7 separate regions of the Homo sapiens genome follow, and regions 2, 3, 4, 5, 6 and 7 are each linked to region 1. Evidence: promoter capture Hi-C in 16 types of primary human blood cells and fetal thymus (Javierre and others, 2016). All regions are on one chromosome and are shown on one strand. The core of a region is centred on a gene start or on the middle of the fragment in contact, and the rest is flanking DNA. Distances in the headings are between cores, read along the strand shown. Region 1 holds the start of RGS2 (regulator of G protein signaling 2). Region 2 holds the start of MIR1278 (microRNA 1278). Region 3 has its middle 81 kb from the start of RGS1. Region 4 overlaps CDC73 (cell division cycle 73). Region 5 overlaps CDC73 (cell division cycle 73). Region 6 has its middle 98 kb from the start of RGS1. Region 7 has its middle 110 kb from the start of RGS1.

Region 1 (3,830 bases), core at 624-3,123:
TCCTATCCCTCACATTTTAATTATTTCTAAATGAATTTTCTAGATTTCGCTCAAACCTGTAATTCTCAAAATTTAGCTTTTTAAAGACTAAGATACCAGTAGGCAAAAGGCTTATGTTGGCACTCTGCTGCAAAAATATAAGTACTTTGCTGTCAATGCAAAGTAAATATTTATAGGGGAGCCATAAATTCTCTGGGAACTAAGCCTCTTGAAAACATTGTATGCAATGGAAAAACTGACTCAACCTTAACTATAAGCAACTGCCACTTTAATTTGTTTAGGCTGATTTTCTTCCCCACCTGGAGAGAATATATGCATTTATTTGTTAAACCCTGGGAAATAAAGGAAAGAAAAACAGGCTTTATCCTATAGTGACTGCAGTCTAATCCCCCTCAGGCAAGCTGCTCTTTTGTTAGGTGGACGCAGCCTTTCCAGGCTTTTGCGATGTTAGCAATGGCTCAAGCTCAAGAGTTAACTTACATTTGCTGGCTAGCAGCTCGTCAAATGCTTCTGACCACAGCTGTGCTTCCTCAGGAGAAGGCCTGCAAGAGAGGTTCTGTATGTTAGCTTACGCACATCAGAGTTCCCCTTTTCAGTTCAGCAGCTAACTATTGATATTTGCAAGCACAGGATTCTCAACTTACTTGATGAAAGCTTGCTGTTTGCTTTTTTTGCCGGTTTTGGGCTTCCCAGGAGTAGAGGAATTTTGTAAGAAGTAGCTCAAACGGGTCTTCCAATCTTTTAAACTAAAACAAAAAATTAAAAAGATAATTACTAACTAGCAACACTTGAATATGCTACTGCAGCTGAACGCATTTTTACCAAATAAAGTCACCCAGTAACTAGAGACAAACCGCATAAGGCAAAGCAAGAACTCTTCAAATAAGTCTTATCCACCTAACATTTAAACCTCATGTACTGAGCAGTTTCGTCCATTAATCTGACCGTATCTACTAGTTTTACAACTAAGGGCAGGGCTACCTATAATCACTAGGGTATTTTAAAGAATTGTTAATGAATTTAGTTCAAAAGGCAGACACTATTTCTGGCTCACAAAGGGCATCAGTTTGTTTGCAAGGTTAATTACAATTCCGAGACGTTTTGCACTTTAATGAAAAGGACAGACATGGAACTGTCTGGAGCCGGCCCACGCTTCTCTCTTTAGAGCAGGAGGTTCTGGACCACGCCAGAGACTGTACAAAGAGGTGGGTGACTGATTCCCCTGCGCTCTTCCTTCCCCACCTACGACACTTCTTTTAAGCAGACGCTGCATAACAATTATTTGTTCCACATTCGGACTGGGTGAGATCTGCTCTATAATTAAAAAACAAAAATGGATTTTAAACGAGTATATTCAGAACCAGCAAGAGCATCACCTTCCAGTAGCTGTGTAAGCTGATGAGAACTCATCATGCAACGTATGAATGCTGGGGACGCGCTTCAGCCGCAGGATTCTGATGTCATTTTGAATGCAGGAGGACAAAAAGCCAACCCGCAATTTCTTAGCGCATCAACCACCGCCCTCATATCAACTGTCTCCCTCGGTTCTTAAACTGTACCCGAGCATCACCCAGATTTAACCTTACTTAACAAATTGACCTTTTCGATTTTTTTTCCCTGCATAGGCTCAGGCTAGTTTCCTAACGTCAAAGGCGAGCCCGAAAGTACCGCGTTTGCAGCTTGCAGTGTGGGGCAGGGGGTGGCGGGAGAGGGAAGAAAGCCATACTCACAGGGTCCGTTTCATCTTTTCTCGCTTCTCCTCGCTCTTGTGGCCACTGCCTGCGCTCTTGTCCATGGGTCTGCAGTCGTGTTGAACAGCCAAGAACATAGCACTTTGCATTATCGTTCTCCCGCTGGAGCCCCGGCTGTTTGCGGCTGGGCGTGCGTCGCAGCATTTATGAGGCCTCGGCTTGGGGGCGGGGCCTCGCGGCTCCGGCCCCGCCTCAAGAGGACGCGGATTGGTCGGCTGCAGACTGGCACGGGGATGGGTCAGCGCCCGCCGGCGGCAGTCACGGCTGCTGCCGAAGGGTCTCGAAGCCGGGGCGCTGCTGACGTCTGCGGCCCCGGCTTCTTGCGCACTCGGGCCACATAGCAGCGGCCAGCTGGGGCAGGTGTGGGAGCAGATGGAGAGTCTTCAGTGTGGGCCGCTGCGCACGACCTTTTGCTGAAGCGTGGCGGCCGGGCGGGCTCGAGGGCTTTGCGACGGAGGGAGGGAGCCGAAGTTGGCGGCGGCCCGGCGGGGGCGCCGGCGCTCCCTCACCCACCCTGACGGGCTCCCCAGCCCGAGGCCAGAGCGGCGATTCCCTGGCAGGAGGAGGTCGCCCGCCACGAGGCCGGAGTGCAGTGGCCTGATTTCGAATGAAGAGTGGGATTTTTCTTCCTTTTTTGAGCGCGTTCCCTGACCCCGCGCCTCATTTCTTGTTTGCTGTCCTGCTGTAGGACTCATTCGACACCCCCTGGTCTGTGAACTGAGGCAATGGGGAGACCCTCGCCCGTTTCTCTCTGCCACTTAACTTAAGGAAGGAGTAACCTGAAACGTTGATTGCCCAGGGGCAGGGTGGGATCTGCTCTGCAGCTTGCTGGGGCGTCTTGGAACACTTTGAGAATGAACATTAGGGATTGAACAAGAGAAAGTGACTTTATCAGAAGACAGTGCTTTAATTGGGTTTGCATTTTTGATCACTACTAGGCACGTGGCTGGGTCTGTCTATAGGGTCATTCCTCAGGAGTCCTTGGTCACATCTCCTGCCAAAATAGAAATCACAGATTTCCTTATGGTGGGAGAGAAAGCTGCAGACATAGAGATTTCATAGCTGTAATGCACCAGAATCAGTGAGTTCAAGGAGTCAGGATTTCCTCATGAGTCATTCTTGTTGAGTTAGGATTTACCAGAACATTTAATAACTGGCAAAAAGTAGGGGGGAGAATGAGTTAACAGTTTCCTTGATTAAGTTTTATTTGTTAATTCTTCAAGTATCATCTCTACTCCTGAAGGTTTTAAAACGACTTGATTGGTAAAGACAAATAGATTACCTCAACCACAAAATGAGTTGATTTCGGATAATATTACCAGAACTAGCCAGTGAAATGTTTAAGCGGCTTTGCAACCAAGCTGCAGATATTCTCTCTACTTTGTATTCGACTTCTTAAAAGGAAATTGGAAATAATTAATATATTCTTACGGTGAGCTGCCAGTAGTTGGAGCTCCAAGTTTGACTTGGAGGGCAAAACCTGCAGTTATTATTTAAGACAACAGTTGTGGACTTTATTGTGGAAAGGAAAATCGTGTAGATTTCAGTAATAGATACTTTGAAACATGCTTGTTAACTCTAGGAATGCCATTTTTTCTTAAGCATATGCTCTTCCTCTCCTATGCTTTGCATAATAGTCCTACATCTATTTTCACTTTCTGATGACTCAATACGTATTTATCAGCTGTCTGTAATACGCAGACACTTGCTTTTTCTCACCACTGTAAACCTCAATATATTTTATACTTAGAACCTTAGATGTTAGAATTTACTCATAGACAGTTAAATTCGCTGGCAGGCCAGGAGTTCTGACAAAGAGGCAGCAGAGAGAGAGAGCTGGACTTCTGTCAGGAGACCCAGTTAGAGCCTGGGCTTATCCAGTAAATGCTAAGTAACTGTTGGGACACTAGCTTCACACCTCTTTGAGTCCCAGTTTCTCATCTGTAATAAGAGTAACATGTATTTTCTTGCCAGCCTCATAGGATATTATGTGACTCTTACATGAAAGGTCTTTTCTAAGCTCTAAAGTACTGTACGGAAGTTTATTACTGATTTGCATATGTGTGGCAAAAGGAAATG
Region 2 (4,036 bases), core at 1,001-3,500, 330 kb before region 1:
AATTCTGACTAGCACAAATATGAAGAAACTATGTAAGGTTGAATAAAGAACCACCCAAGTGAATTAGACAGAATAATGCCTAGTGTTCACACAAAGTGAAGAATAGTGCCTGTTCCACTAGCCAGAATGAAACCTCACGTTCATGAAGTATTAGGTACTCAGAATGGTCTTCCCTCAGTGGGTGGGGAATAATTACCCTAGCTGACCAATGTTCAGATAAATTAAAATCAAGACCCAAAAGTAACAAACTGTTTCCAAGGGATTTAACTGTGTCCCAAAAAAAAGCTAAAGATGATGTGGGGAGATATAACAATATCTAGCCCTCAACAAGGTAAAAAGTATATATGATGTTTGGTGTGCAAAGATCACATGATATGTAATAAAGCAGGAAAATGTAATAAAGCAGACATGTAATAAAGCAGAACGAGGAGAAATATCAATCAATCTCAAGGCATGAAAATAATTACAAGAACTACGTTCTATATTTCAACAAGCTAAATGAAAAGATGAAGTAGGTATGTTTTTTAAAAAAGAGCAAAACATGCAAAAATTAGCTGGGCGTGGTGGCATGCACCTGTAATCCCAGCTACTCGGGAGGCTGAGGCAGGAGAATCACTTGAACCCGGGAGGCAGAGGTTGCAGTGAGCCGAGATCACGCCACTGCACTCCAGCCTGGGTCACAAGAGCGAAACTCCGTCTCAAAAAAAAAAAGAGCAAAACAAACTTCAGATGAAAACTACAATGCTGGAGACTAAACATGCATGGAATTACATAAAAAAAATTAAGTAAAGTTGAAAACACAACAGAAACTATCCAAAAAGGACTCAAGAAAGAATTTAACAGATATAAAGTTAATTCAAAAAAAGAGAAGAATGTAAGTGAACTGTCAAAGAAAAAAATACTAAAGTTCAGCCAGGCGCGGTGGCTCACGCCTGTAATCCCAGCACTTTGGGAGGCCAAGGCGGACAGATCACGAGTTCAGGAGTTTGAGACCAGCCTGGCCAACATGGTGAAAACATCATCTCTACTAAAAGTATAAAAATTAGCCCGGCGTGGTGGCAGGCGCCTGTAATCCCAGCTACTCGGGAAGCTGAGGCAGGAGAATCGCTTGAAACCAGAAGACAGAGGTTGCAGTGAGCCAAGATCGCACCACTGCACTCTAGCCTGGGTGAAAAAGTGAAACTCCGTCTCCAAAAAAAAAAAAAAAAATTAAAGTTCAGTACAACAGAAACTATCCAAAAATAATTCAAAAAAGAATATAAACAGACAGATAGAAAAGAATCCAAAAAAAAGAAAAGAATGTAAGTGAGCTGTCAAACAACTTCAAGTAGAGTTTGAGTAGCTGGAATCCAGAAAAATGAAAACATTTTTAAAAAGTGAAGAAACTATGCCCATCCATTCATGTATTGTCTATGGCTGCTTTCCCCACACCACAAAAGTTCAGTAGTTTCAAGAGACCATATTACCTTCAAAGCTAAAAATATTTAACATGTGGCACTTTCCAGAAAAAGCTTGCTGACTTCTGGTGTAAGTAATCAATAAGAGGTAACATAAAATGAATTTCTCAGCTTATAACGCAATTTTTAAAAAGAAAGACCAACATGGTAATAGAAACAAGAAGACTTTTCAAAAAGCATGATAAACACAATGACTTCCAATCCCCACACATGTTCTTACGAACTTAAGAGCAAAGAGGCATAAAATGAATCCAAGAGGTAAATGTAAATGTGGAGAGCATTTTAATATTCCTTTTCCTTATACTTTTACATATATCTAAACTACCTACTTTCTACTTAAAAAGAATTCTTACCTAATCTGTTCAGTCTGTACAATCCCTTCTTTGTGACCCTCCAAACGGGCAGCCAATCTCTCTTTATCAAGGCGCACACACTCTTCATCCTGGAAATAACCACTGGTTAATGCATTTAAAATTTTTATTGAACTTTTAGGAAGAAAAAACGCTACATGTAACTTTTCCTTACCAAATTTCCTACCTCTACAATTCTAGGTATCAGTGTCTTTAGGCCAACTTCAAGACTACTTTTGGCTACGTAAAGATAATAACAATAAATATATGTTGAATCTTAAGACTGGAATCATCGAAAAGCTTAGGAAAAACTTGCTTAGCTACTTTTTTCTTTATGATTAAGTGCTCTTCCCATATCATAGCTGACTTTCTTCAGAAAGACACAACAAATAAATTCATCTTTTTGAGAAAGTTAATAACCAAATGTTATGACAAGCCTTCACCAGAGTCAACAATTTCATTTTGGTATCTCCATTTTTTTTTCATCTGTTGCTACAGGTCCTGAATCCATTAGCACTAATCAAAATGCTCTAAGGAAAACCTTAAAGGTTTTCAAAGGATGGTCATTAGAACGTTAGAAGCTTCCAACTAAACGCCTCATGGGCCACTTCAAGATTTTGTCTGAAATTCAACCCTGGTAGCTCAGCTTTTATCTAATTCACATATTATGATGTCAAGTAAAATTTAGTCTGAAAAGCTGTTGGTTAAAAACAAAACAAAATCTGGTAACCCTGATCCAGTTTAATGTCCACATTCAACAAATAACAAAACTGAGGACCAGAGTCAATGACTATGACTAATGAAATACAAAACTGTATAAAAAGCATCAGCATACTCTAGAGATCCAAAAAGATGTTGGGCTCCAATTCATGTCCTATTATTAATCTATCATGTAAAAATCTTAAAATGAATAAATCAGCTGAAATAAATGCAAAAATATTTTGGCAAATGCATCCAACTTTTTCCATTTGCAATAAAGATATAGCCCAGATTTCTCAAATTCCTTACTACTGATTTTAAAGATAACTGCAGCCTAGATTTTTATCAAATCAGAAACTCTACCCTCAGTTTCTCTTTCCTAGCACAGTTCCTTATAGATCCTCAAAAGACATACACTGAACTGAAAACCAATGTTGAAAACCATAGCTGTTTATGTAACACATTTCAACCCCACAAATGATTTGGAAAAAAATGTATTATGCCATTTCCTGCTGATTTTTTAAGTTACTGGAATCCCAGGAAACTAGGACTTCTGCCATGTTGAATTTTTTCAAATAATTAGACTGTGATGTTCAGATTGTTTCAAATAAATGGCATCCCTTGAGCTGGGCGCAGTGGCTCATGGCAGTAATCCCAGCACTTCGGGAGGCCGAGGTGGGCAGAATGCTTGAGGCCAGGAATTTGAGATCAAATAAATGGTATCCCTAAATTCATACACATTGTTTACCACAGGTCACAATCTCCTTTCATATAAGGGGAAATATTCAGTTTTACTGCCACAAAATTTATACCCAGTATAGCAGAATGGCTAGAAACCAGACTGCCAAGGTTCCAACTGGTTCTTCAAACCTCAGGAACTCACTCTGTCTGAGCCTATTCGCTCATAGATGATATGCACAGTACTACCAACTTAATGAGTTCTGGGAGTACTATGCATATCATCTATGAGCAAATACGATTACATGAGTTAATACATATAAAGTACTTAGAATAACACATAGCATAGAGCAATAACAATGAATCAATTATCATCATTATCTCTTAAAAATATCAGATCCATTTCTCAGAATATCCTTAATTAAGATTACATTAAAGTAGTAAGTACTTCATGTTCACAGCTCTGAGCAGTAAAGCAAGCACCCATAACACATTGTTCCAAAGGTAGGCAAACTACATCCCAAAGACCAATTCTGGCCCGCCATCTGTTTTCTGAAGTTTTTTATAGAAACATAGCCACATCTGTTCATTTATGTATTGTCTATGAGTGCTTTCACACTACAATATTAAAGTAAAATAGTTGCAACATAAACTGTATGGCCCATAAGGCCTAAAATATTTACTATCTGGCCTTTCATAAAGAAAGAATTCTGTAGCCTGGCCAACACGGAAAACCCTGTCTCTATTAAAAAAAAAATCAAAAATTAACTGGGCATGGTGGCAGGCACCTGCAGTCCCAACTACTCGGGAGGCTGAGGTGGGGGGATCACTTAAACCCCGGAGGTCGAGGCT
Region 3 (3,794 bases), core at 792-3,291, 310 kb after region 1:
CAAACATTTGTACTGAATGTGATTGTGATAGAAATCAAAGTTTAATATTTTTCAAATATTTGTCCAGTAGCTGGAGGACTATTTGTTCTTATGCCCATATTAATCTGTCATGATCACAGTACCTTTGTATTAAGAACTATTTGTTCTTATGCCAATATTAAACTTTGTTCTTATGCCAATATTAAACTGTCATGATCACAGTACCTTTTTATTAAGTTTTGAAATGGAGTAGTATAAGTCCCCAACTTTATTCTTGTGTTTTAAGATCAATCAGACTAGTCTAGATCCTTTGCACTTCATATAAATTTTATAATCACTTTCATAATTTCTTCTAAAAAGCATACAGAGATTTTGATTGGGATTGTGTTGAACAGGTTAATTAGGGTAGAAAAAATGTATTAACAATAAGACATTTTCTATGTTACATATATAAAATATCTATTTATTTAGGTCTTTATTTTTTCTCAGCTAGGTATTATTTTCAGTATAGAGATCTTTTCTATTCTTGTTAGATTTATTAATAGATATTTGATTTTTTATTTTATTATAAACAGTATTTTATTACATTTTATTATAAACAGTACTACTATCTATAATAGCATGGAAAAAATCAAATATCTACCAATAAATCTAACACAAAATATGAAAGATCTCTACACAGAAATAATACTGTTTACTGCCAATATATGTCTATTTCCTCCTTTTTTTACTGCTATTGAAAACTTGTATTTTCTGTCTTTTTCATGGTCAATCTTGAGAGAGATCAATCAATTTTATCAATGTTTTCAAAGAACCACTTTTTGACTCTAATTATTGTTAGTTTTCTATTTAATTGGTCTGATTTAATTTTTATTATTTCCTTTCTTCTACTTTGGTTTTAATAGGGTCTTTTTTCCTAGCTTATTTAGATGAAAGGTTAAATAATTGATTTAAAATTTTTAAAAAATTCTGATATCCATTTAAAGCTAAACATTTCTCCTAAGTACGTTTTTAGCTGAATCCCATAAATTTCAACATATTATATTTTTTATTATCAGGTCTAAAATATTTTCTAATTTCTGCATGATTTATTTATAATCTCTGTTATAGGATTGTTGTTTCATTTTTAAATATTTGGAGGCTTTTTTAGACTTACTGTTACTGATTTATAGTTTAATTCCATTGTGCTCAAAAAAACATTCTATAAGTCTTAAGTTTTTAGGATTTCCTGAAATGTATTTTATAGTATTTCACATGGTCTCTCTTGATGAAAGTTCCATGTGCACTTGAAAAGAAAGTGTTTTATAAATGTCAGTTAAATCAAGTTAGTTGAGAGTATGGTTTAGACTGTCTATGTTGATACTTAGTTTTAAAACTCTACTTGTTCTTTTATGCACAAAAAGATTTTATAATCCCCAACTATAGTTGTTGGTCTATTATTACCTCTATTTCCATGATTTTTGTTTCACGTATTTTGAATTCTGTCATTAGATCCATATGCATTTATGATTGTTAAATCTTCATGATGCATAGTCCCTTTTATCATTACCAAATATCTCTTTTAATATCTATCTCCTTCCTTGCTTGCATTTCTTATCTGATATTAATATAGCCACACCGAATTTCATGTGCTCACCCTTTGCTTAGCACATATATATTTTTTCCTTTAAGCTTTCACTTTTTATATTTTTATTTAAGCTACAAGACTGGGTGTGGTGGTCGATGCCTGTAATCCCAAACTTTGGGAGGCCAAGATGGGAGGATCACTTGAGACCAGGAGTTTGAGACCTGGTGGGATCTTGGCTCGCTGCAACCTCTGGCCCCCAGGTTCCAGTGATTCTCCTGCTTCAGGTTCCCTAGTAGCTGGGATTACAGGCATGCACCACCATGCCTGGCTATTTTTTAAAATATTAGTAGAGATGGGGTTTCACCACATTGGCCAGGCTCGTCTCAAATGCCTGATTTCAAGTGATCCACCCACCTCAGCCCCCCAAAGTGCTGGGATTATAGGCATGAGCCACCGAGCCTGGCCTCCATACTATTTTCTATAGAGGTTGAACTAATTTATATTCCCACCAACAGTATATAAGCATTCCCTTATCCCCGCATCTACACCATCTTTTGTTTTTTGACTTTTTAATAGAAGCCATTCTGACTGATGTAAGATGATATTTTAATGTGTTTTTAATTTGCATTTCTCGGGTGATTAGTGATATTGAGCATTTTTTCATGAGTTTGTTGGCCATTTGTATTTTTTCTTTTGCGAAATGTCTGTTCATGTCCCTTGCCCAGTTTTTAATGGGGTGGTTTCCTTTTTTCTTGAGTTATTTCAGTTCCTTGTGAATTCTGGATATTAGTCCTTTGCCAGGGACATAATTTGCAAATATTTTCCCCCGCTCTATAGGTAGTCTATTTATTTTGTTGGTTATTTCTTTTGCTATCCAGAAGCTTTTTAGTTTAGTTAAGTCCCATGTATCTATTTTTGTTTTTCTTGCATTTGTTTTTGGGGTCTTTGTCATAAATTCTTTGCATAGGCTAATGCCCTGAAGAGATTTTCCTAAAATTCTAATATTTCTTAAACTTAATTACCTCATAAACTCTTAACTCAATCTTTTGATTTGGTATTATATGTAGAGTAACATTAAAGATGTAAATAATTATTAGAAACTTATTTTGGAACATTTTAAATGTGTACTAAAGTTGACAATATAATGAATTCCTATCTACCCATCACCCAGCTCAACAATTATCAACATTTTCCCATTCTTATTTGTCTATACCCTATCTTATATATGAGTTTTCTCTAGATTATTATAAACCACATAACAGATATTGCATAATTTCACATATAAATATTACAATATACATCTTTAATAGATAATTATAAAAAAGGCTTAGCTTAGCAGTATTTCATCACGAATAACAACATTTTACAAATAATGTCACATCATCCAATAAGTGGCCCAATGTTCTATTTTCTTCTTTTATCTAAAAACATGTCTTTTTACAGTTTTTTGAATCAAGATCCAAACACAGACCACATATTGTATTTAGTTAATATGTCTCTAAATGGCTTTTTAAAATAATGTCATATATTTGTTGAAGATACTAGTTTATTATTTTTCTACCTCTAGGTATGGTGGTTGTATCTCTATCACCCATATTTCCTGTAAGTTGACAATTGATAGACTTGATTAGATTCAGATTCAACTTTGGAAAAAATACTTTATAGGTGGTGCTATACATAGCATCTTTCATTGCATCAGGGGCATGTAGGGGGCATATTATTGAGTTTCACTTTTAGTGATGTTAAGATTGATCAGTAGGTTAATGTGTTGCTTGTTATATAGTGATGAGAGGCCAGATAATTTCATTACAGTTTGCCAATGGTGATTTACTAATTCTATAATCTTTTTACATTTATTAGCTAGAATTCTTCCATGGAGAAGATTTTCATTAGGTATTTGGTTACTATGGCAGATTGATTTTCCTGAAAGGCAGACATTGAGATGGAGATAAGTGGAGGGCATTTAGTAAGCATTGCTTTTGGGATCAATATTTTTTGGAAGAGAGTTCAAGATGTTCAGATACACCAACCTAGCTCTCCCTACCTCATGTGTCAAGATCATACTTTTTTCCCAGACAGAAACCTGATGTTGGTGTTGCAGACCTGCCTTGGTTGGAAGTTTAACCTTTTTTGGAGTTTTGCTACTTTTATAGGCCTCGTCATCAGCTTTTTCTGTACAGTCTGCCTTCCCACCTTAGGAGAAAAGACATGACTCCTCTTCCTCCAGTCTCTCTCTCTCTCTGACCAA
Region 4 (3,808 bases), core at 746-3,245, 350 kb before region 1:
AATAATCCACTAACATTTACGAACAGGCAGGAAGAAGAAAAACAAACTTTCCTACAAGCATCCTTAAAATATATACAATAACCAGTCTTCTTTCAAATCTTTCTACTCCCCACTCTCTCCCCATCACAGGGCTTTTACTACTGCTTTTTGTTCACTGCTCCTAAAATGTGTTTTCCTGTCATCATCACCAAGTTAAATCCTACATAAACTTCTGATCTTATTCAAGAATTACCTCCTAAATGAAGTATTCTGACTCCTGCAACAAATCCCCCAATTTTAGGCTCTTGTTGCACAACGTACCTTTAACACTTGTCATAGTCACAATTTTATAGTGTGACTAATGTGTCCCTCCCCAATCAGATCATAAAGTCCGTATGAACACGTCTGGTTTTGTTCATCTTTGATGTCCCAGCACTCAGCACACTGCCAGGCACACAGCATGCACTCAACAAATATTTGCTAAAGGAAAGAGGAAGAAAAGGAAATAGAACCCCAAGGAAAACAGCTTTTAAGAGAGTCTCCATTATCTGCAGAGCTGAACTCTACACTCAACTCCAGAACATTACTGCTACTATAGCACTCCCGTAACACTTCAAGCAGAGATGAACAACAAATTAATCAATAACCAAATGGGAATGAAGGAAGCTTTATAAAACAGTGGTGGGGTGGGGAGAGTGCTATGTATGTGTTCCTGCTTTTAAGAATCTAACCTGGTTGACAGACTGAGATTCTGGATCCTCCTGAGAATTGATGGTGATATTATCACACCTCTAACAAATTATATAAAGCTACCTAAGTTTACTTACTGTCAAAAAAAATCGTTCCCCAAAACACACTTAGTGTAAGAACTATGATGACTGTTGGAATAAATTCAAGCAAAGATCTTAAAGGAAAGCTTTTAATCTCTATAATTGCAGGGTGTGAGATGCTTCCGCAAAAATGAAGACAGTAAAGGTAATCAAGAGTCAATGATACTCACTAAGAACAAATAGAGGTTAGAGTCTGTAACCCTTCCAGTTAAATATGAACAGGCTAGACAGGTTAAAATGAAGTTGTTCTCAAGGCAACTACCAAATCCTCACTAATAAGAGTGAACTGTGATCACCATCTGATTATTTCTCCAGTGGAACCATAAATTGGTTCCTTGCAAACTAACAAAAACAGACCTTCATTATATCCTCTTATTTACTATACAATAAACTTTATCAAGTGACATTCTTTGTCTAATATGACCCTATCACAAAATGAAACCATGAAAATATATTGTTATTTCCCCCACTGAATGGTTTCTACTTCTAACACATAATTCTGAGATAGCTTTACTTAACCTGATTCTATGAAACACTAGTCCTTTCAAAGAATATTCCCTAGGTGTTAGGGTAGGGGCAAACTCAGGGGGTTAAATAAGCTTGAGAAAGACTGAATATTCTTCCAATTTAGATACTCATACATTAAAAACAATGAGATTCCTGAACCACAAAATCTGTTTAATCTAGTGGGGTTTTTTGTTTGTTTTTGAGACAGAGTCTCACTCTGTCACCCAGACTGGAGTGCAGTGGCATAATCCTGGCTCACTGCAGCCTCCTCCTCCTGGGTTCAAACAATTCTCCTGCCTCAGCCTCGGGAGTAGCTGGGATTACATGCACACGTCATCACATCCTGGCTAATTTTTGTATTTTTAGTAGATGGGGTTTTGCCATGTTAACCGAGCTGGTCTTGAACTCCTGGCTTCAAGTGATCTGCCCACCTTGGCCTCTCAAAGTGCTGGGATTACAGGCATGAGCCACTGCGCCTGGCCTAACCTAGTGTTTCTTAAACATTATAGAACCCAAGCAACAAATTTGGGGGAAAAGCTCCAAACTTGGAAAAGTTATCTATCAAATCAACAATTTCATGGCTTGGGCCTCTGGAATCTTTACTGTGAAACGTATTTCATGGCCTAAGTCAAAAGTTAACCAGAAACCCAACTATACAAACTTGTAACTTTAAAGATACCTGGGTTTCTGTTGCTATAAGTTTGAATAATTCTTACTTTCATAAAATATTATCAAAGCACTCTCCCTGGGGCCTTTACTTCTATAAAAACTTTCACTAACCCATGATTCTTATGAAATGTGATTATCAAAACATATCCTTCTCTACAACATATATATATAGGAAATTATCTGTATAAAAATATTCTAGCCGTCTGCATAATTTAGTCTTGCATATAACAGAAATCTGATGTTTAACTTAAAAGATACATAGACTGATCCTAATTTTATTAACTATGTACATCAACCAGGCATATCAAAACCTTGGAGAACAATGGCTGCAAAAATGAACTATACATAAATTAGGAAGGAAGTTACATCTGGGCAGCAAAGCCTTTTAACATACATTTAACATCACTGTATGTCTGGGTGGATATTATAAAGGAGAAACTTTCTTGACTGGAGAATAAGGTAGAAAGTTGGTGCAACTCACAAGCTCACAAATAGGTAGTAATTCCAAAGCAGAAAAGAAGAGAAAAAAATATTAAATTGAAAACGTAAGTCTGAGACACAACTAAAAAATAATTATCTGAGAACTTCAAAGCTTTCAAGTTCAAATTTCTCTATGTATTAATTCTAACAACTGCATAAATCAGATCACAAGCAACACAGAGATTCAAACTGGGTATTAATATAACTATCAGCAATTTAACCATTTTTAGTCTTTCTGTTGCATTCCTACACAATGCCTTTTTCATGACTATTCTTTAAAAATCACACAGCATAAATTTGCTTAAGTTCACCTCTCTTTTCAGTATACTTCAGTATATTGCTTAAATTCACCTCTTTCAGTATATTTAGAACAGTCTCTGATGATGCCGCAGAATCACATCATTCTCATACTGATCAATAAAGAAGCTATCCTTAAATTTTAGAAAAACTGCTCTGTACAAAGCATCACTGTAAAACCCATCACAGATTTTACTACTTGCAAAGAAGCTCAGATAATAAAACCATTTCATGGCATTTCAGAGGTACAGGGATGGATGAGAAAAGTAAAAACAACAATCACAAAAATAACAAAAAACTTACTTTGATGGCTCCCCAAGGGTAACAACTTCATTCTACGACTAATTCACTCAGGGAATGATCAGCGGGCAAGTTCTGTCGCACTTAGGGAAATGATTAGTAGGCAAGTTCTGTTCCCAAGATGTCAATAACCAAATCACATAAGAATTTAAACTAAATCTTCAGCCATGAATTATATATTGAAGTCAGGAAGAACCAGGCAGATCGCATAAGATGGGAGTATCTAATCCCTGATGACTTTTCCCTTAGTTCTCCAAACTCTAGCAACACTGGCCTCCTTGCTGTTGCTCTACTGGACCTCAGTCTTGATCCCTGCCTTGACGTAGAGGAATGCTATCCAAGTCTCTCTGCTCAACTGTTACCTCCTGAGAGAAGTATCTCTGACTTCTCTCTCTAAACAAGGCTCATCTGTCTTATTCACAGCTGTATGACCAGCAACAAGAACAGGATCTGACACAAATGCTCAATAAGTACTTGTTGAATGAATTCATTAATCTACACATAATTTAATAATACAAAAACAAATCTGATGACAATTTAAAAACAAGTATATTAACAAAATATCTGATATCCAATCCCAATTTGAAGTCCAGAAAAAAACAAACTTAAAATCAGATCTCTATACTTGCTATTTGCTTTTGGAAATGAGTGAGTAAAACACGTAAAAGCCCACGTAGATATAAAGTTATATGTTAATTCTGAGAAACCACAGCACATATATAATGATTCCATGTTATATAGAGTCC
Region 5 (4,170 bases), core at 1,232-3,731, 380 kb before region 1:
TGCATCTCACAACCCCTTGTAGCTTGCATATAAAAAATGCTTAATGTATTTGCCAAAGGTTAGCAAACCCCTTATACAGCCTAAGAAGTTGGGGGCAGGGCACAGAATCAAACCCTAAAAGTCAAACATTATCTCTTGGTCTGTAATCCTATAAACTTGGCATGTCTCTTGTCTGCTTTGCTGTAAGGGTTTGCTGTAGGGGCTTGGTCAGGGTGGTGGGAGAAATTATAAAATTACAGGAAAAAAGCAAACCTTCTTGGAAGGCCGGAAGGTTTTGCAAAAGCCTCTGGATAGGGTTATGGCTGAAAGCAGCCTAATTCTCTTACCTTGAGTTAACAGCTCAGAGTAGGTAAAAAGGAATGTAAGGGAGTTTATCTAAAGAGCTTGTTTACACATGTGGTCCTAAGACTGGCTTTTGATCATTCATAGGACTGCTCTCTCCAGCGGAGGGTGACCAGATTAATTAACCACACACGTGTTGACTCAATGCCTTTGTCATTAAATCTGTGCTGAATAAATGCCGGCAAGGCCAGTTAGTTGGCACGTGGCTGCCACAACTCCTTCTGTGAGTGGCCCCCTGCTCTTTCACTGAATATCAGTGTCTGAGTACGTTATTCATCCATCGTGCAGCCTGGTTCTGTAGGTCAGACCCCGGCACTTCGCAAAGTTCCTTTACACTGAAGTCCCTATTTCTAATCGGGCCATAACCAATCATACTGAAGATGGCTACATGAATCAAGCATGTTCAATGTTCCCTTCTTTCTTCAAAAAAGCCCTTTAGGAAAAAAAAATTCTATTTACTTACTTCCAACACTTGCTTTCTTGTTTTGTCTTTTATGAGACAGTGTCTCACTCTGTCGCCCAGGCTGGAGTGCAGTGGCGCGATCTCGGCTCACTGCAATTTCCGCCTCCCAGGTCCAAGTGATTCTCGTGCCTCAGCCTCCCAGGTAGCTGGGATTACAGGCATGTACCACCACGTCTGGCTGATTTTTGTATTTTTAGTAGAGATGGGGTTTTGCCATGTCAGCCAGGCTGGTCTTGAACTCACAATCTCAGGTGATTCGCTCATCTCGGCCTCCCAAAGTGCTGGAATTACAGGCATGAGCTACCATGCTTGGCTCCCAACACTTGCTTTCTATTCGTATCTACTACAGCCATTAAAATAAATACTTTCTGATACTAATAATTTATATTAGGGTAACTATGCCTCTTTGCAAAGTTTTAGTAGAATTTTAAGTTTCGATATTTTACATATACTTGAATTTACAAATTGTTTGTTATACTTTAAATAAATTAATAGTGTTAATAATTTTAAATATCAAGAATATGCTGGGTTTGCAGAGAATGGAGAGTAAGCTGCCTGAAATAATTTATTCAAAGGTGCTGACCCAGTGGATGTCACAGTTCTATCAAATTCAACACATGCCCTTTATATTTACTTTACATGGAACAAGTATTTATATAAGAAATACTTTACAATGACCCCTCTTAACTACCTGAAATGAAATGCACAGGTAATACAACCAATCTACATATATATTTTAAAAATTAATACACTAATACAAATAAAATTTTTAAAGACATTAATGATAGAGGCCAGGTGTGGTGGCTCAGGCCTATAATCCCCCGCACTTTGGGAGGACGAGGTGGGCAGATCACTTGAGGTTAGGAGTTTGAGACCAGCCTGCAACATGACGAAACCGCGACTCTACTAAAAATACAAAAATTAGCCAAGTGTGGTGGCACACGCCTGTAATCCCAGCTACTCGGGTGGCTGACGAAGGAGAATCACTTGAAACTGGGAGGTGGAAGTTGCAGTGAGCCAAGATCACGCCACTGCACTCCAGCCTGGGCAACAGAGCGAGACTGTCTCAAAAAACAAACAAAAAGAGAGATTTATGATAAAAATATGCATTTCAGTATGTAAGTCTCAGACATGATTATACCAGAAGATATACTAACCAGATGCTAATACCTATACATAAAGTCATAGTGAATGTAACAATTACAAATGCCCATAGACTGGTATATTGGTGACTCAAATGCCATGAACACAATTTCATTTTTTGATATGGTGAACCATTGGCCAAGTTTAGAACAAAGCAAAGTACAAGCTTCCCTCACTGTACACTGTAGTTACATTTCTAGATAATTCAGTGCACGTTAAAACTGAACAAAATATACTTTATGTTCCAACAATGTTTTAAATTTACTTAATTATAAAAAAGTGTTTCACCTACACAGATAGCCAATGAAACACTCAGAAGTCCTGCAGAACACAGAGCTAGTCTTTGCTGTTTACAAAGACTGTCCCACACACTACTGGACTACTACCTACCCTGGCCCTAAAATGCCCTTAAAAATCATTCTGTTAACTAGAAACATCCTCACAAACTTCTAGAACACCTCGTAGAAATCAGTACTACCCCTACCACTGCCCCCTTGAGAACCACAGCTCTAAGAGTATTATTCCTGACTGAAACAGCTGTGCCTCAGAAAAACCAAGGAATACACAAGCATAATAAAGTATTTGCCAAATCACTGCTGATTGTAAATGCTCATTGTTAATAGTTTGCATGAATTAAAACAGATAAAGGTGTCTATAATTAGTTCTGAAAGAGACACTTAAATTTAGCTTTGTTTTCAAGTCAAAAGAAATTCTTAAACAACATGCCTATCTGCTGCACAAGAAAACTGAAGGAGAAAAATAAGGCAGGCAAACACTGACACTTGTGGTCATTCTGAGATTGCTTATTTGCAATCAGGCTAATTCTTGCTTTGTGAGTTCAAGGAAAGTAAAGCTGGTTCATAAATCATCCACTGACTTTAGAGGAAAATTACAAGCTTTTAATAAACATTTGACTTCTCTTCAAAAAGGGGAAACTACCTATACTAATATTAAATAACCAAAAACAAGCCATTTGTCCAAATCCCTTATGTAATGAAAAAGACTGCATCTGATTATAAATAAAAACAGTCAAGAGAAATAAACTCCAAGCAAACATCATGCAAAATTGTCTAGTCATCTCAATAAAACTAAAATTGGTCTCTAAATAATTGTGTCAAGTGACAGTTTTCAGAGTGGTATGGTGGAAATTATACCTGATCTAAAACATTAAGATTTTTGTCCAACATGGGAAAAAATAGCTGGTATTTCTGGTAAGTCCTAGCTGAAATTAATTCCTTGAATTCAGGGACCAACCACTCATAATAAAGCACAAACAGGAAAGGAGACCAATATAAGAAGACCAGATTCATGTCTCCCTTCTAATGTTACTCAAGGATTTTGCTCATTCCCATTAGATGAAAATCATCCACCCTGGTTGAAGTGCTCTCCCCCTACCTTTCTCTTTTAATCTTTTTACCAAGGACATATTGTTGAATGTACATACATAGATAAACAGATGATGTAACTCCATGAGTTACTATTTAGTAGCCACTTGAACAGCAGATTTACATCTGATTCAACATGTAATAATCATTCAAAACCATTAACTACATGAATACAAAAATAATTATTCCTATACCCAGTAAAAACTGACAATTAGGAGGCATTACAATTCCTGTCTTTAAATTCTGACTCCTTGAAGTCTATACTAGACATGCCCAGGAAAATGCTAAAACCGGCCTGGACAGCTCTGGCCATGATGCACATAGTAACGGCCACCTATTTTGCCATCACGGATGTGTTGTAGGATTAAAAATAGACTTATGCAAGTGACAATTACAAGCCATTTATAACTATAAAACTTAACAAAATAGCTGCCAGTTTGCTGAATCTGAAAAAGAAACCTGTCACATTTACTGAATTAGTTTAACCATAGAATTCAGATGTTAAAAGAAACTAGACTAAAGGAAGAACTTCTACAAGCTCTCCTGTCATAAGATTTTTACAGTTTCTCTTGACTGGAAACATGTAGGTTGCTACAAAAAGTTACTAAAGGAACTTTTATCTCACATCTGCCCTGTTTTCCTGAACTTTACGTAAAGTTCTTAACTAGCTTAACTTAAATTTAACAAACAGGTTGGCTGGGCACTGTGGCTCACGTCTGTAATCCTAGCACTTTGGGAGGCCAAGGCAGGTGGATCACCTGAGGTCAGGAGTTTGAGACTGGCCTGGGCAACATAGTAAAACCTCACTTCTAGTAAAAATACAACAATTAGCCGGGT
Region 6 (4,116 bases), core at 903-3,402, 330 kb after region 1:
AGTTTGGCCATCCAGCAGCTGAGCTCCTCTTCCACCATCCCCAGCCAAACTCCTCTCAGTGTTCAGAAATTCCTTCTCTTTGTTTTCTCTGCTGTGCTGTTCCACTGTTTGTGTTTTTATCTCCTTGTCTCTTTGTCTGCTTGTCTGCTTCTGGAGCCTGGGGTTCGGAGTTTTTGTGGGTACAGGATAGAGGGGCATGGGGGGCCAAAAGGCAGCTTTTTGGGTACAAAGACAGAAATGACTGTTCCCACTTAGGGCTGTGGGTCTCCAGGCTTAAGGGTGAAGCCTTTGCTGGGGAACTGCCCTCTTTTACTCAGTATTTCCCTATCTCCTGTCCATATCAGTAGCAAGTGCATCAAACGTGTTTTGAGGTGAAACATTACACACCAAGGAAGAGAAGAGATATGGAAGACTAGAAAAGGCACAGTCTAAGGATATAGAAGGATGATTTTAATCTATATAATATTGAAAAATTACTAAATAATTTAATTTCAGAATGAAGATGCTGGGACTTCAGGTGGAATAATTATAATTTATTATTTTCAACTCAGTTTTTATACTTATGTGTACCAATTATATAACTGATCTGTCCTGCTTCACCAACAACTTCTACAAAACAAGGTTATATTTATCAAGATATGCTGTATAAACACATTAATATCAGACAAAATAGACTATAAGGCAATACATATCACTAGAGATTAAGTAGACTACTTCATAATTACAAGAAGTTTAGTTTAGCAAGTGGCAATATAAATTCTAATTTGGAATGGACAAACTATATGACATATATATGTATAAAAATGAGCAGAACTAGATTGAGAAATAATTAAATACACAGTGATATGGGAAGATTTCAAAGCAGCTTCCCCTAATGGTAATACAAACTTTGAAACTGCAAAATTCATATCCCTCTATCACACATAAACCATCTATAAATTTCAGTGCATTTAAAATAACAGTGTGTTCTCTGACCACAGTAAAAATAAAGTAAACCAGACCACAAAAAAGAAAACCAAACTGGAAACAGCCTGTATACTTGAAAATTAAAAAATGTGTTTATATAAAAACTATGAGAGAAGAAATCACAATGAAAATTAGGAATATCATGAAATACATAATAAAAGTACAACATGTAGAATTTGTGGGACTGTATTAAAGATGAGTTCAAAGAGAAATTTAAATTGAAAATCCTATATGTCTATATTTTACAGGAAAGTCTAAAAATCAATCAACTAAACCTCCATTTCATGGTGTTGAATGTAGGAAAAAAAAGAGCAAATTCAATCCAAAGGCTATAATAGAAACAAAAACAACATGGCAGAAAAAAAGGAGTAGAACAAACACATAAACAAAGGCATCATCAAAGTTGCTAAATTTAAAATATTAATAAAATTGATAAAACCTTTAACAAATATTATGTATAATTATAAATAAGTTCTCCATCTGTTTCAATAAAAAGGCTAGGAGACTACTGTCATTAATTTAATTCTTCATATACTGGAGGATATGTAGCAATGCAGTAGGAAGAAGAAATAAAAATAAAAATATAGCAAAGTAAGAAAATTGATATTATTTGCAGAACAGAGGATCATATATATGGAAAATTCAAGAGATTCTACACATAGTTAATATCAATTAATAAAAGAATTTAGCAAGTTAGATAACTTCAGCCATGTACAGAAATTGTATTTATATGTAACAGTAACAGAGTTAGAAATTAAAATTAGGATATTATTTAAAATAGTATAAAAATATTTACACACCTAACTCTAAATATGTTCAAGAACTCTGCATAGAAAAGTGTAAAATATCATTTAAAAGAATTAAAATAAGACTCAAATAAACAAAGAAACAGAAGGACGTACTACATTCATAGGTTGTAAGACCCAATATTGTAAAGAGGGCAGTTCTATGAAAATCATTTATTACCATTCAATCAAGATTCCAACATGTTCTTACTGTTTTGGGAATATTGCTCGTTAGGTTGTGTCCATATATGTGCATGTGTGTGTGTGTAAATAAAAAGTCTTCATTTCAAAGTCTGGAATCAATTATTTTACAAGTTTCAAACATTTTTCTAGCATCTTGAAAGTTTGTCGGCCCAAAGCACTGTGCCTACAACAACTAATAGGTAAAATGACCCATTTGGAGTTTGGGTCTTTGTATTCCCAGATTCATGATCCTCTTACTATGCTACCTTCTCTCTCTGTTCTAATGAATATATATCATTTAATTATCTTGTTAATTTTAAAAATTAATGTATGTGTTGTTGAATGATTTTACTTTAAAATTTACATAAGTATGAGGTAGAAAATTGTGCTTACTAATTTTATATAACAATGAAGTTAAAATAAACTTATAAACTTTTAACTGATATTTGTGTCCTTACATAGTAAGTATCTTTGTTCTTCTATTTTCATGTTTGAAAAATAACGGTTTCTACCCATATTCAGAAAGCTCATTAAGAATTTACTGCTTTAGCTGGTACTGATTATTCACTGTATTTGTCTGCCCTCTAGTGATTGCAGAATAAAGTCTAAGGAAAAATTACCAGAGGTAAGAGTCAGTCGATTAGTTTTGCAGAAACTCTCATTATTTAAGTTTAACCTGGCTTCTTGTATAACACATTTCTAAATCATTTAGAAATCTACTACATGTCAATAACATAGACATTGGCATACAACAGTTTGATGCTGTTATAGTGTTATACTATGTGTGGATTAAGCTAAACGACTAATAAAATAATTTATATGTTGAAAAAATGAAAATGAATAAAAGGAATATATAATTATACACAAAATTTACTGGGCACCTACTCTCTGTGCTAAGCTCTTTTCATACATTATGTTATTTTATCTGTACAGCAGTTCCTTAAGAAGTCCCTGTTTTATAGATAAGAAAATTCAGGCTTAGTGCGGTTAAGCAACTTGATTAAGGTCAAATACCAGATAATAATAATAATATTAATAGCTATATTTATCAAGCATTTTTTAGTGCCACAGAAAGGTGCTCTGTTAAGCACTTTGTATGTCTATATTAGTCATTGCTCAGAATAGGAAACAAACCACTCTAGAGACTGAAAACAGAAGTGGGTTAATACTGCAAGTGAGATCCTGACAATCAGTGGGAGGGCCAGAGAAGTCGGTTTTTGAGTGGATATTGTGGGATGACTGCCAAAACAATGTGCAACTGACTCATTAGGAGTGCCCGCTCTGAGGTCATTACTGCAGTGATGTCACAAATCTCAAAACACTGAAAAGTCTGAAATACGCATGCAAACTCCGTTGCACAGAAACCTGTTCCTACCACGTTGCTAGCCAGCAGGAACAGCCAAGCGTTCGCGTCCAACTTCTCCCTCTGGTTGGCAGACACAATTCACACCCAGAGCCCTTGCTGCCAAGGAGTCTGCTAAATGTAGCGTTTATCTCCTCAGCTCCTATGTACAAAAAAGGAACATGGAAACGGGTGGGGTTGGCTGCTGGGAGCCAGTCAACCACACCCAGCATAACGCGTTATCCAATTTAGTCCTCATAGAGATTCATAGGATTGTTTCTCCATTTCATAGAGGAAGAAATAGATGCACCGGCAAGTTAAATAATCTGCTAAATAAACAGGATAGGAACCTATGTCTCTCTTATTCCAAAGTGCAGCACATCTCACTATCTCAATATGACACTATGTTATCATTAATTCATTAATTCTATGTTAGTGTTGAACATCTCTCCCTCAACCCCAACCAACACGCACACACACATTTTTTTTTTTCACATGCTTCTTATCAGGATACAACCTAGATTCCAAGAAAAGTGAATTGAAGGTGCTGCTCTCCAGTTGTCTCCTGAGTGAGCTGTCCTCCTAGGCTTGGGATAAAAATATGCAGAATCAATGTACAGCCCTCCTGCATCTCATATTCTTGCGGGAATAATAAATATATTCTCTAATACATGTGATTTGGCCTGAAAAAGGGAGCTAATGGCATTGCTGGCACTGGAATGTGACTGTAGCCAGCATACTTGGAGAAATCAAGGTGTGTGATCTCCTCAGAGCAGAGAAACATCATGTAGTGGTAAGGAAAGATGCCAAAACAGTAGATGCTATTCTTGTCTGTGCAGC
Region 7 (3,969 bases), core at 1,282-3,781, 350 kb after region 1:
AGCTCCGCCTCCCGGGTTCACGCCACTCTCCTGCCTCAGCCTCTCGAGTAGCTGGGACTACAGGCGCCCGCCACCACGCCCGGCTAATTTCTTTTTGTATTTTTAGTAGAGATGGGGTTTCACCATGTTAGCCAGGATGGTCTCGATCTCCTGACCTGGTGGTCCACCTGCCTCAGCCTCCCAAAGTGCTGAGATTTCAGGCGTGAGCCACCGCGCCCGGCCTTCATCTCCGTTCTATCAGAGGTAGAATGGAGATGAAAAATAAAGGAGATGAAGAAGTGAGGAAGCTGAAGAGCAGGGATTTTTACTCCATCATTCAGGTAAAAATGGAAGGATAATTGCAGTAATTGGGATTGGAGGAAAGATTGCGGATTATATAACAAAGTTTTCAGATAATGTGCATTAACTGAAAGCTAAGTGGTGAAAGAATACAAATACAAGCATTATAATGCTGTGTTTAAGAGAGAAGCTGCAGCCCATGGCAGCTTAAGAGATAAATCATTGTATAACAGATGTAGTGAGAAAGTGCAGGCTTAGGGTGGCAATGTCTGCCTGCATCAGCAAGAGCTGGCTGGAATTTGAGAGGATAACAGATTACTGAAGATGCATCTCTGTGTTAGAAGAGATGGTTCCTGCTTTTGCTTGAGTCACAAGAGCGTCAGCAGAATCTGGGCTCACGCTTTTCTAGGTATTTTTTATGATACCCAGAAATTCTGCTAAAACCTGTGGGGGAATTTCTGATTTCATTAAATTTTCACTGTTGTATTTTTGCTGCTTCTTAATTAAGTAATAATAGAGTATGAAGAAAAATGCTATTAAAAAAAAGATTGTGGCTGTTTCCTCCTAATGGAATTGCTTAGTTTATCTCTGGGGTAGATGGTTCTTTTGTTAATAAAAGCACGGGGTAGGATTTGATATCATTTTTGCTTGAGAAATGTAAGGCTAAGGATGTAGTTTGGATGGAGTAGCTGGCAAGAAGACAGACAATATAAAGTTAGAGGTATTTGGAGTTACCATGAGTAAATGAGAAGATAGCATTAAAAAGAAAAGTCAAAATAGAGAGGAGGAGCTCCTTAAGAGCATGTCAGAAGGAAAAGACTTACGGACACATCTAGACAATGATGAACATGTCTGTGGCAGAGAAGTGATAACAAATATCTAGAAACAGCGATGACCTCTATTGAATTTGCAGTATTTCCTTCCTATTCAATACTTCCCCATCTGTTGCCATCAAGTTTCCACTGAACATTTTTTTTAAATTTAAAATAGGCTTGTGTTTCTTATAATTTGTGGAATTAAAAAAAAGATGTCGTTTTGGTTATGACCAGATGCAGCTCTGTATGGCAGAAAGCTTGAAAGAACGTGGCTTAAATATGATGGGAAGCTTATTTGTTTCTCACATAAAGAATTCCAGGGAAAAGCAGTCCATAGCAGGTATGGTGACTCCATGGTCAGTCATCAGGAACCCATGCTCCTTCTAGATCTCCACTCTGCCACCCTGAGGGCGAAGCTGTCATCCTTGTGGCTCCCCATGTAGTCACTCCCACAGAACTTCTCATCTGTATTTCAGGGGATAGTACAGAGAAATGGATGAAGAACATATTTTTTCTTTCCTAATGAGGCTTTCTGGAAGTTCCACAGAACACTTTCATTTATGCAGAACTTTACACACATCTTACTGGCCAGTACGTAGAGATAAAGAAAATTGGAAAACATAGACTTTCAGCTGACTGCAATTTGTGAAGGTCAAAATTAGGACTCTATTATTTTGAAAGATAAGTTAAGAATGTGAATTTGAAAGGTGACAATGTGCCTCTGTCACAGAAAGATGAAATCCAGTATGAAGGGACATGGTGGGCCAAATGGGAACTGTGGTTGGGTGAGCTGGACAGCAGCAGGAAACCAAGCTGTGAAGTGAACTGACAGAAAATCAGCCCCACTCCAGCCCTAACCCCTCAACCCCACCCTTGAGAATGTGCAGGAATTTATTGGAGGACAGTGGTACAATTGCTATAGGATGCACAGCAAGGGCTCAAGCCATTCTTCTTGAATATTCTATTTGATCTCAATAAGACTTACCTGTACCCAGGAGGCAGACATATGAATCATGGGCTAGGAAGTCCTCTTGTCCACTTCTTAGACTGTAACAGCTTAGATTTTACTTCACTCTCAGAACTCCTCTTTATACCCACCCATCCCACCTCGGATTTATACTTCTATATTCTGTCATCTGAAACATCTGTTTTGGTAAAAATATCTGATTAGGTACCTTTTAAAGTATTTCTAACAAACATCGTCTCTTTTTTATTAAACAAATATGTGTTATGTGAATTGAGAATTATTGCCAACACCTCGGCCAGTTATATAAGTGTTGATCTGTGAATCAAATTTCTGATTTTTATTGTTGATACCCTATTTTCAGGCTTTGCTTGGGCTATTCTGGATAAATATGAAGGGAGCATCAGGGTTTGTGTTAAGGTCTCTATATGGTTAAGGTTCCCAAAGGAAGGAGAAAAATACGTGCAAAAATTATCATCTCAGGCTCCTAAGCTGTGCTTCCAGAAAACAAAAGAAAAAAACTCTCTCTGAGGAGGAAAAAAGTCAAAAAACCTGTTTTTCAGTTTGGGCCATGACAATAAAAATTGGTGTACGTGGTGGGTTGCCAGTACAATATCGGTGCAAAAGTCCCTTAGGCCTACTTCCGCAAGACTTGTTTTGCAGTTTTGACAAAATGGCGGAAAAAGAGAGGGGTCCATAGATTTTTAATTTTATTACAATGAGATGTGTTTCAACTCTTTTGCAATAAAACGTGAGGGCCAGATTTTTTTTGACTGGCATAAATTGTAAATTAGTGGTACTATAACATTTAAAATTAAATAAATTTATTTATGGATATAATAGAAATCATGGTTAAAGGTAAATTTTGCTCAACAAAATCAGAAATTATCAAAACTTTTGGTTTTAGGAACCCCTTTATGCTCTGAAACTCTACTAAAGACATCAAAACAATTTATGTATTTATATTTACAATAATAGAAATTAATGTTTAAAAAATTTATATTAATTTATTTAAAAACCAATAATAATCCCATTACACACTAGCTTAAATAATATATTTTAATGAAGTGACTATATTTTTCAAATAAAAGTTTAGTGAGAAGAAAAGCAGTGTTTTACATTTTTGCAAATCTCCTTAATATTGGGTCTAATAGAGGACTGCTGGATTATTGTAACTGCTTCTACATCCAATCTTTTTTGATATGTTGCTCTGTTTGAAGTAAATGAAGAAACTCCAGTCTTGCATACATGTATGTAGTTTAAAATGGAGGAATATTTTAATAGCTTTTAAAGATAGCTGTGAATAGTCTTCTTTGGAACTACATCCAAACCTGGCTATAGTAGTTTCTTCAAGGTTAATTGTAATGTAGAATCTAAAACTATCTCAATAAACTTCTCATGACATTAAAATCCACTGGTCTATTGTGTGATGTGAATGTTGATTCTGTAATATGATGCATTGAACACTTAGAGAATATTGTTATGCTGAGTTATACAGGTCTTCCAAATGTTGATGAACTTCATTACACAATATCAAAAATTTCATTCATTAATATCACTACCAAAATTCATCAGGCAACTCTTTAAGTGTTGGAAAGCTGTCAAGCTAATGGAAGCTTTCACTTGAAGCTTAAATTGTGCTATTGGCAATAAATACTGTCAGTTGTTTTCCTTAAGTGACAGGCTCATTTTGTTCATTTTTGAGGAAATGTCTGCCAAATATCCAAGTCTGAATAACCACATTTATCTACAAGTTTTTCTTTTCAGTAAAAATTGTTTCACAAAATAGCAGCTAGTTCAGCTCATAACCTAATTGCACAATTTTTTTTTTTCTCACAACAATCATACTTCAGTATGCAACAGCAGGGCTTTATGTGTACTTTCCATTTTATCACACAGAATGTTGAAAAG

Evidence for each region. The method cuts DNA at HindIII sites, captures the fragments that hold promoters and counts their contacts. A CHiCAGO score of 5 or more calls a contact.
Region 2: a contact is called between a fragment that was not itself captured here and the fragment with the promoter of RGS2 in region 1, in 3 of 17 cell types (total CD8 T cells, non-activated CD4 T cells and monocytes). The highest score is 6.4, in total CD8 T cells.
Region 3: a fragment that was not itself captured here is called in contact with the fragment with the promoter of RGS2 in region 1 in 1 of 17 cell types (total B cells); the score reaches 5.8 in total B cells.
Region 4: a contact is called between a fragment that was not itself captured here and the fragment with the promoter of RGS2 in region 1, in 1 of 17 cell types (monocytes). The highest score is 5.9, in monocytes.
Region 5: a contact is called between a fragment that was not itself captured here and the fragment with the promoter of RGS2 in region 1, in 1 of 17 cell types (naive B cells). The highest score is 5.2, in naive B cells.
Region 6: a contact is called between a fragment that was not itself captured here and the fragment with the promoter of RGS2 in region 1, in 16 of 17 cell types (naive B cells, M1 macrophages, M2 macrophages and 13 more). The highest score is 17.5, in naive B cells.
Region 7: a fragment that was not itself captured here is called in contact with the fragment with the promoter of RGS2 in region 1 in 1 of 17 cell types (naive B cells); the score reaches 5.2 in naive B cells.

Annotation. Positions count from the first base shown.
Region 1 is chr1:192,807,082-192,810,911 of GRCh38, reverse strand. RGS2 (regulator of G protein signaling 2) reads right to left here and starts at 1,873. Exons shown (of 5, transcript NM_002923.4): 1 at 1,731-1,873; 2 at 645-746; 3 at 481-542. The coding sequence starts at 1,840. RefSeq lists silencers at 620-679, 2,187-2,396, 3,333-3,422 and an enhancer at 1,637-1,856. The HindIII fragment of the contact is 4,593 bases long and covers 657-3,830 here.
Region 2 is chr1:193,135,948-193,139,983 of GRCh38, reverse strand. CDC73 (cell division cycle 73) reads right to left here. Exons shown (of 17, transcript NM_024529.5): 6 at 1,811-1,899. MIR1278 (microRNA 1278) reads right to left here and starts at 3,481; the gene lies at 3,401-3,481. The HindIII fragment of the contact is 281 bases long and covers 2,110-2,390 here.
Region 3 is chr1:192,492,843-192,496,636 of GRCh38, reverse strand. No RefSeq gene overlaps it. Among named protein-coding and RNA genes, the nearest start is that of RGS1, 81 kb to the left of the region's middle. The HindIII fragment of the contact is 777 bases long and covers 1,653-2,429 here.
Region 4 is chr1:193,153,486-193,157,293 of GRCh38, reverse strand. All of the region lies in intron 10 of CDC73 (cell division cycle 73), which reads right to left. Among named protein-coding and RNA genes, the nearest start is that of MIR1278, 19 kb to the right of the region's middle. The HindIII fragment of the contact is 1,169 bases long and covers 1,411-2,579 here.
Region 5 is chr1:193,189,111-193,193,280 of GRCh38, reverse strand. All of the region lies in intron 10 of CDC73 (cell division cycle 73), which reads right to left. Among named protein-coding and RNA genes, the nearest start is that of B3GALT2, 4.6 kb to the right of the region's middle. The HindIII fragment of the contact is 730 bases long and covers 2,117-2,846 here.
Region 6 is chr1:192,476,207-192,480,322 of GRCh38, reverse strand. No RefSeq gene overlaps it. Among named protein-coding and RNA genes, the nearest start is that of RGS1, 98 kb to the left of the region's middle. The HindIII fragment of the contact is 4,574 bases long and covers 1-4,116 here.
Region 7 is chr1:192,459,405-192,463,373 of GRCh38, reverse strand. No RefSeq gene overlaps it. Among named protein-coding and RNA genes, the nearest start is that of RGS1, 110 kb to the left of the region's middle. The HindIII fragment of the contact is 2,290 bases long and covers 1,387-3,676 here.